Linked DNA regions of Homo sapiens: all the other regions are linked to region 1. Evidence: promoter capture Hi-C in 16 types of primary human blood cells and fetal thymus (Javierre and others, 2016). All regions are on one chromosome and are shown on one strand. Each heading gives the region's core, a stretch centred on a gene start or on the middle of the fragment in contact. The rest is flanking DNA. Distances are from core to core; before and after follow the strand shown.

Region 1 (2,590 bases), core at 44-2,543:
AAGAAGCTGTCCGAGTGGCCGCAGCGGCGGATGTTCATGAGCTGCAGCGTCACCGACGGCTGCTCGCAGTTGAGCTTCACGAAGCCGATGGTGCGCGCAGACAGGCACAGACGGTACACCCCCGTCAGGTTCTTGCTCTGGCCCAGACCCTTGGGCTTCAGGTTCACCTGCCACACCTCACGGTAGGCGGCCGTGGCGGGAGCCACCAGCCCGTAGCTGTCCTCGGCCCCGGCGGCGCCGGCAGAGCCGCCCAGGGCGCCGGGCAGGGAGGCGCTGCAGGACGCGGCGGGCGCGGCGGCGGGGGGCGCGTCTCCGGCGGCCGCGCGGCCCTCGCTGACCAGGTCGGTGAGCGCGCGGTACCAGCCCTCCTGCTCCTGCTCGTTCTCGGCGGCCACGGCGAAGTACTCGTCCTTGGTGTAGAGGGCGATCAGGTACTTGTGCTTGGCGTCGGCGCGCTTGTTGATGTTCAGGCAGCAGTCGAGAGCGATCACCCGTTTCGGCGCGCCTGCCTTGCTCCGCCACTTTTTCTCGCTCTCGTAGTACTCGAGCCGCGGCGGTTGCGGCGCCGACCCCCCGCCCGCCGTCGCCTCGTCGCCGCCCGCGCCGGGTCCGCGCAGCACGAAGAAGCGCTTGTGGCCATGCTTCTGCTTGCGCAGGTAGCCGCACTTGCGCACGCTGTGGTTGTTGTTGTTGTTGTTGTTGTTGAGGTTGGGGCCGTCTCCGCTCGCCGGCCCGGGCGGCCCGTGCCGCGGCGGGCTCGCCATCGCGGGCGCTTCAGGCCGCGCGGCCCGGGCCCGGCGCCCAGGGGTTGGGGCGAGGGGCGGAGGGGGCGCGGGCGGGGGCGGCTCCCTCCCACCCTTGCGCCCGGCCGCCCGCCCGATCACGCGTCCCTCGGGCCCAGGCGGTGGGGAAGGTCCGGGGAGGCCCGCGGGGGCCAGCACCGCTCGGCGGCGCCGCGCCCTCCGCGCTCTGGGGCTCCTGAGGATGCCCGGCGCGGGCGGTGGCCGCCCCCCTCCCCGGCTGCCTGCGGCCGCTGCCTCCTCGGGCTCTCGGGCGGCGCCGGGGGACGCGCTCGCTGGGCCGGGAGTCGGGGTCCCCGAGCCGCGGGGCCGAGCCTAAGGCGCGCGCGGCCGCACCGGGGCTGCTGCCGCCGCGTCGCGCTCCGGGAAGCCGGGGTGCGCCCGGGCGCTCGGGGTCCGCGCCGCCGCCGGGGCTGCTGCTGCTGCTGGTGTTGCTGCTGCTGCTGCCAACGGCGACCCGGGCTCGTCGCGGTCCCCGCCGCACAGTGAGTAACACATCGCGCACCGAGTGACTGAACTAAGAAGAGCAAAACAACATGTGACTCGGCGTTACGCAGGCACACACAGCGCGGCCGCCCCGCCCCGCTGCCTCGCATTGGCGCCGCGCCCCCCGACGGACGGCGCGCTCGGCCAATCGGCGCGGCGCTCGCGGGGGCGGGCCGCGCGCCCCCGCCCCGCCCCCCTTTCTCCCCGGGCCGCGTTTCCCGCCGTCCCCTCCCCCTCCCGCGAAGGCCCCGGCCCGGCCGGGCGGGGTGGGGCGGCCCCGGCCTCATTAATCAGCGGCTTGTTGTGGATGCCGGCGGAGGAGATGCCACCCAGGGCGGGAAAAGGGGCGCGGAAGAGGGGCGGGGCGGGCCACGGCGCGCAGGGCCCTTCCCTCCCGCCTCGGACTCAATTAATTGGGCTTGAGCTTCCGCCGGGGAGGGGGCGCCGGGCGGGGCCGCGGCTGGGCGGGGCGGGGGATCGGGATCGGCGGCGGGGGCTGCGGCCTTGCAGTGGAAGCATGGGCGGCGAGCCGGGCCGTGCTCTCGGGGCGCGGGGTCCCCATTTTGGGCGAGGGCGGCCGCTCCCGCGCTCGGGGTGGGCGCGCCCCATCCCCGTCCCCCGTTTCCCGTCCCCGTCTCCCGGCCGCATCTCCGTCCCCCCGCAGCCGCGAAACGCGGGGAGGTTCCAGGGCCCGCGGCCGCGGGTTCGCGAGCACCGCGCTCCAGATCGAGAGCGGCGCGCGCCCTTCCGTGGAGGACAGAGGGGCGCGGAGGGGGCGCCTGTGTCCCACCCGCTCGCGGGCGCTTTACGGGGCGTCCTCTGCGCCATTCACTTGTCAGCTTGTCGGGAAGTTGAAATCGCGTTTGGGAGGTAATAGGAGAAAGAGATCGGGGACGGCAGGCGGAGAAAGTGCGGTTTCCATAGCGCCGGGGAGAGGGCGGACCCGCGAGCCAGCGGTCCCTGAGCCGGGAGACCGCGCGGGCGTCTCTCCAGCCCCCGCAGGAGCGCCGCCTTCCTTCCGCAGGGGCGTCCTCTCCCCCCACCGCTGCAGGAGCACCCCCTTCCTTCCTCGGAAGCGTCCTCTCACCACACCGCTTCAAGAGCCCCCCCTTCCTTCCACAGGGGCGTCCTTTCCCCCTCCGAGGCAGGAGCGCCCCTTTTCCCCCCACAGGAGCGCCCTCCCCACCCCAGGAGCGCCCTGCGCCCAGCAGACGGGCAGGTGGGCGGGCGTCCACTACCTGTGTGCGCGGTGCGGGCGGTGACTGCCAAGTTGGAGATGCCCTTGGAGAACTGCTTCGAATTCA
Region 2 (2,590 bases), core at 38-2,537, 790 kb before region 1:
TTTTCAGTTCCAAAGGTTCTTAGAAAGCTAAACATAAAATTTTATTAGTATATATTTTCTAAACTTCACTTGATGCCCCTTTTGTTTGTATTTCTCTTAGGACTCAATATTATTTATTCTATTATGTTTAGAAACAATAAACTCTTCGTAAATTTTATGTGCCATTGTTTTTTCCATAGTGGAATTTATCACCAAATCCGTTTAATATAAATAAGTTTCATAATGGAGGTGTATCTTTTTCATTGTAGAGTACCAGGATGATTAAAAGGAAATGTTACAAAGCTTAGTAAGGAGAATTAATGCATTTGAAACCATCTATCAGATTACTTTAGAGAAGAGTGAATTGAGTAATTTTAATGACCAGGAAAAGGCTTAAGTTAATCATTGTGGCTGTCCAGCTATAAAGCTCCAATCCCAGATACGTAAACTAGGAAAATGCTTTCATGTAGTTTTGTGCTAATAATTGATAATGGCTACAATTTCTTGAGCTCCTACTATTAGTCAGATTATTTTTCTATATAATTTTTAACTCTTACAACAGCTTTTTCAGAAAATTAAGAGTTAAAGTCCCCACAAGTTTTATGAGGCCCAGTGGGAATTCAGAGGCAGATGTGTGAGGCCGCAGGAGCTGCTCCAGCACAGGCCATGCTGTCAGTTTGTCAGAACCTCTAAACTTTGCATTTCATTCTGAATCATTACAACTATTTGAAAAAGGCTTATTATTTTGGTAGAAATTATACATTAATCATTGGTTTTGGACTATATGAATAATTTTATATGAAAAAAGAAAGCATATTGATTAGAAGTTTATTACTAAACAAGAAAACAAACTTTTTTTTGAAAAATATTGAACAATTTGATAGAGTGACTGAAGCTCTAAAATAAGAGCATTTTAACCAGAGGTTATGTTTCTAACTCTTGGGCATGGCTTCTATTTAAATTGAGGAATATATTTTATGTACAAGGTATCATACAAAATACTAAAAATAATTTTTTTAATATGTGTTTTTCAATCCTGATCTTAGCATATTATTATATAAGATTTGTCAATAAATTTAGCCAGTTAGTTTGTAGTCGATAGACTCCTTTTTGAAGACCAATTCTTCAAATCCCAAAGTAGTAATTATTTACATTAAAGGAGAATATAGTCATGAATTAAACCCATCAAAATACTAGATTTTTTTGTTCTGAGTAACAGAATAAAATAAAAGTTGTAAAAAGAGAAAGTGTTTTTCATTTGTGTAAAACAATGTCTTTATACATGTGAAGTAGCTGAAATTTATATTTACTTAAAATTTGTTATATATACTTTAATTTTAAAATATCTAAGGAAGCCAGAGAAGGAAAGATGATTGATTCCTTTAAGAAATAGTAACAGAATAAAAAATTTAAAAAAAAAAAAAGAAAAGGAAGAGAAGGGGATTGGGAAATAGAAGGGTGAAAAAAGAAATACAAACAAAAACAAATACGGCAGCCTGGGCCAGGTGGTAGCTGTGGGTGGTAGCGAATGTGTGCCCAGTCCACTTCCTGGGTGCTGACTGCGGGTCCCAATGTGGGGCTCTGGTAAGGAAAGCAACCCTTCTCTGCTGTGGCTACCAAGCACCCAAGTCCTCTATTTTTAAAATAAGATTAGCTTATCGGCAGAGGTAGTATCCTCTATCAAGGTAAGAGTCAGTCATGGTGCTAGCAAAAGAGTAAACATGACCTTTCCCAAACAAGAATGGTAGGAAAGAAAGGCCTCTACAATTATAGATTCTGAGAAGACAAAATAAACTAGACTTTTAAAACTGAAGTAAACAAGAGAGATGCTATCCCCTCACCAACCTCCTGTACCTGCCGTTTCATAGGCAATATATGGAAATCAGGGATAACTGATTTGTCGGAGAACCACTTGGAGCAGTCTGGTGAGCCCCAAGGTAATCTTCAAATAGTTGAAGTTTATAGTATGCTTGAAGTGTTCAAGTCCCAAAGAAGTCCTGCAGAGAAGCCTAACTTAACTCCATATTTCCCCAATGGGCTTCTGCTTAGGTAGGGTTTTTAGACAACAGCTATTAAAGTCTCACACAATTAGTGTTCTGCTGAACATATTTCAGCAATGCTCAGTGTCTAAAATCTAACACTATTCCTTCTCTCTCTCTCTGTGTGTCTGTCTCATGTGAACACACACACATTAATATCTTATATATACACATATATATTAACTAATGAGCAAATTAGTTGATGCATAGTGCATTCTCAGTTCTATGATCTATCTCAGTGTGTTCAACCATGTCTACCCATTAGAATCACCTGGAAAGCTTTTTAAATATTTCAATGCCTGCACCCCACTCCAATTTAATTGGTTTGGGGTCAGGCCCAGACATTAGCCTTTCTTAAAAAACTCCTCAATTAATTCCAATGTGCAGATAGGCTTGAGAGTCACTGCCCAGGGCTCTGCCTTCAGCTGGAGTCAGCTTTAATTAATCTCCTACTTTAATTCTGTGATGTGTATGCCATGCTCTATTATATTTTTGTTTCAGATATGTTTCACTGAGTAATGAAAGTAAAGGGAGAGCAGTTGGTGGAAATTTACTCAAGAAATTGTTTGTCA
Region 3 (2,590 bases), core at 31-2,530, 580 kb before region 1:
CTGAAAGATGACAGCAAATCTAGCCCTGTGTTTCAGAGCTCCCAGCCTGACTCTGCAGCCTTGTGCCCCACACACTTTCAAAATCCAGAAAATGTTTTAAGATGAGACTGGTCACATGCTAGAGGCCATCATCACCCCTGCCAGGGTTTTACTTCTGAAGCACCTCTGTCACTGTAGGAGGTTTCATTCTGCTTTCTATAAACTTTGGCCTAGGGCGCCCATCACCCATGCAGGTGAACAGCTAAATGAGTGTCCCCTGTGGACGATGGCTGTGCATTTGAGGACCTATAAGTTTCCAATTTGTTTCTTTAGTCCCATGAAACTCCAAAATATCATGTGGTTTATCTTCCTTCCAGAAAAAACTCTCTGGATCTGGGGAAATGCTCAGAATTGGCAAATGTCCCCGGGAGGAAAAAAGCAGCTGGTAATTATCTGTTCACCTCAAAAAGCTTCACTCCATCTGGAATTCTCTCCATTTGTCAGAATTTCCTGATGTTTTAGAAAAATGACTCTTTTTTGAAATTTTTACAACAGGAACAATAACATGCTATAGCTCTCCAGAAGTGAACGTTCCTCAGTTTGTTTTCTAAATAAATGAATATGAAGTTGTGTCATTTAGGAAACATGGTGTCTTAAGAAAACTTGGGGAAAATAATCAGTTGACATGGTAGCGATATTCTTCCATCAGTTAAATGTTGTTTCCTGATCTGGTGACATTGTTTTCAGAGATCACTACTGTATGCTGAGTGTGTGCCAAGGAACATAAATATGAATGTTCCATGTCCACACTAATGAGACTGAAGGGAATGTAACCAGCACAGCACACACTGGTGGAGGATGACGGAGGAGCTGGCACACACTCCTGGACAAACATAGATGACTGTGGTCCCATTCAGAAAAAGAAGGGAAGAGGAACATGGTACAGGGGACTCTGATCCTTAGCCTGTATCAGATCCTAGACCACAATAGTTGGGTTAAGCACAGTAGACTCACAGCTAAAAGCATATCTTCTTTTGAGAATTGTCTACTCATGTCCTTAGCCCACTTTGAAAGAAATTATAGATGATGCGAACAAATGGAAACACATCCCATGGACTCTTGGGCCAGGCTGCCAGGATCTGTCATTTTCCATGTGGCTTTGGCCAGATTACCTGACTGCCCTGTTCCTGTTTCCTGATCTGCAACATAGAAGTACCCACTTTACAGGGCTCTTAAGAGCTGACGAGTTAATGCCTGGAAGGTGCTTACGAAAGCACCTAGCACACGTGTAGCCAAAGTGTTCACTAAATAACCTGATTTCATGCAAGCTCCCACCACCCTGCTTTCTTGGCTCACTCTGCTGAGAGTAGAAGCAATCTGGCTTCCACAAGCATCTGCCCAACAGAATTTCTCATTTCCAGGCCATTCTGATGCAGCCCTAAAGAATAAAAAAAAAATACCCTTTTAAGAGGCCCACTCTGCTCTGCAGCTCACTCTCTGTTATGTCTAGAAATTGCTTTAGGGACTGAGTAACCATAGTCCTCTTTTCTACCCTTAAGCTCTTCTTTCCTCTGGTTGTCTGTAAATTCAACTGGGGAGGCTCCTTTTACTAATAACCAGCTCCAGAACTCTAGTTACAGACTCTGAATATGGGTTTGACCTTCATGCTGTAAACATCATCTCCTTGATCCCAGCCTTTAAAATCCTCTTTCTGGGGGAAACAGTAGGCTCAGGTGTTGGTGTTAGAATTGGGCCTGGATGGAACACTCACTCCCTTTGCTGCTTTCAAGTGACTGTTTTCTACATAAGTGCATAACCACTTGTGTTCTGTTTTGTTTTATTTTCTCTCATTTTAATGGAGAGGGTTGTGATGAGATAGAAGAAGTGCTGGAACAAAGTAGTTAGTGCTTTGGAGGTAGGATGAGTCATCTCATTTCCTCTGAATTCTCCCCAGTATTCCTATTCGGATTTCCAGAATCTCATTTTTTTTTTAAACCAGTATACTTCCTTAGAATTGCCAGAAAAATTGATATCTGCAATGTCCAGCTACTACAGACTTCTGGCGGCTGGCAGAAGAAGGGTGACCCCAGCTACATAGCCAGCTTGTCTTGTGCCCTAGCTGAAGTCAGGGGGTAAGCTTGGTCTGCAGGGTGTCTCTCTTCAGGGGCCATAGTGACACAAGATGATGTAGCCAATACAGTTACATGTTTTGATGCTTTCCTGCAAAGGCCCATAATGTTCCCATCTTTGAGGGCTCAGCGTCTGAGAGTACACAGTTGCTAATTTAGCTCATTGCTTTGTCTCACTGCCACCAAATAGAGCAGGCAGGTAGATACACCAAAGAGGCTTCAAATATTCTCAAGCACAGCTAGCCCGCCTTGAATGAGCTCATTGGATATTTTAGTGACTGCCTTTTGGAACACCTAATGCTTGAAAACATTTTCTACATGAGTGTGGTGTGATTGTGTATTGTCTATGAACGGACCCTCATGAGTAGGGGTCCATCTTTGGGTCCATGCCTTATGGTCGGAAGTGAGGTCATGTAACCCTAATAGTCATGTTTGACTATTAACTATGTGGACAGATGGAGGAGCAGCTCCGAGGATGGAGT

Evidence for each region. Contacts are between HindIII fragments. The CHiCAGO score rates a contact against its expected background, and 5 or more counts as called.
Region 2: a fragment that was not itself captured here is called in contact with the fragment with the promoter of IRS2 in region 1 in 1 of 17 cell types (endothelial precursors); the score reaches 6.0 in endothelial precursors.
Region 3: a fragment that was not itself captured here is called in contact with the fragment with the promoter of IRS2 in region 1 in 1 of 17 cell types (fetal thymus); the score reaches 5.4 in fetal thymus.

What each region holds. Positions count from the first base shown.
Region 1 is chr13:109,785,290-109,787,879 of GRCh38, forward strand. It overlaps IRS2 (insulin receptor substrate 2), which reads right to left and starts at 1,294. Exons shown (of 2, transcript NM_003749.3): 1 at 1-1,294. The coding sequence starts at 764. It overlaps LOC124903211 (WAS/WASL-interacting protein family member 1-like), which reads left to right and starts at 1,795. Exons shown (of 2, transcript XM_047430835.1): 1 at 1,795-2,156; 2 at 2,311-2,590. The coding sequence starts at 1,804. The coding sequence ends at 2,548. RefSeq lists an enhancer at 1-430 and silencers at 1,272-1,501, 1,522-1,691. The HindIII fragment of the contact is 25,501 bases long and covers 1-2,590 here.
Region 2 is chr13:108,999,792-109,002,381 of GRCh38, forward strand. The region is part of intron 21 of MYO16 (myosin XVI); the gene reads left to right. Among named protein-coding and RNA genes, the nearest start is that of MYO16-AS2, 100 kb to the right of the region's middle. The HindIII fragment of the contact is 2,015 bases long and covers 281-2,295 here.
Region 3 is chr13:109,203,625-109,206,214 of GRCh38, forward strand. All of the region lies in intron 34 of MYO16 (myosin XVI), which reads left to right. LOC124903207 (a long non-coding RNA gene) reads right to left here. Exons shown (of 2, transcript XR_007063864.1): 1 at 1-2,590. Among named protein-coding and RNA genes, the nearest start is that of MYO16-AS1, 38 kb to the left of the region's middle. The HindIII fragment of the contact is 1,667 bases long and covers 448-2,114 here.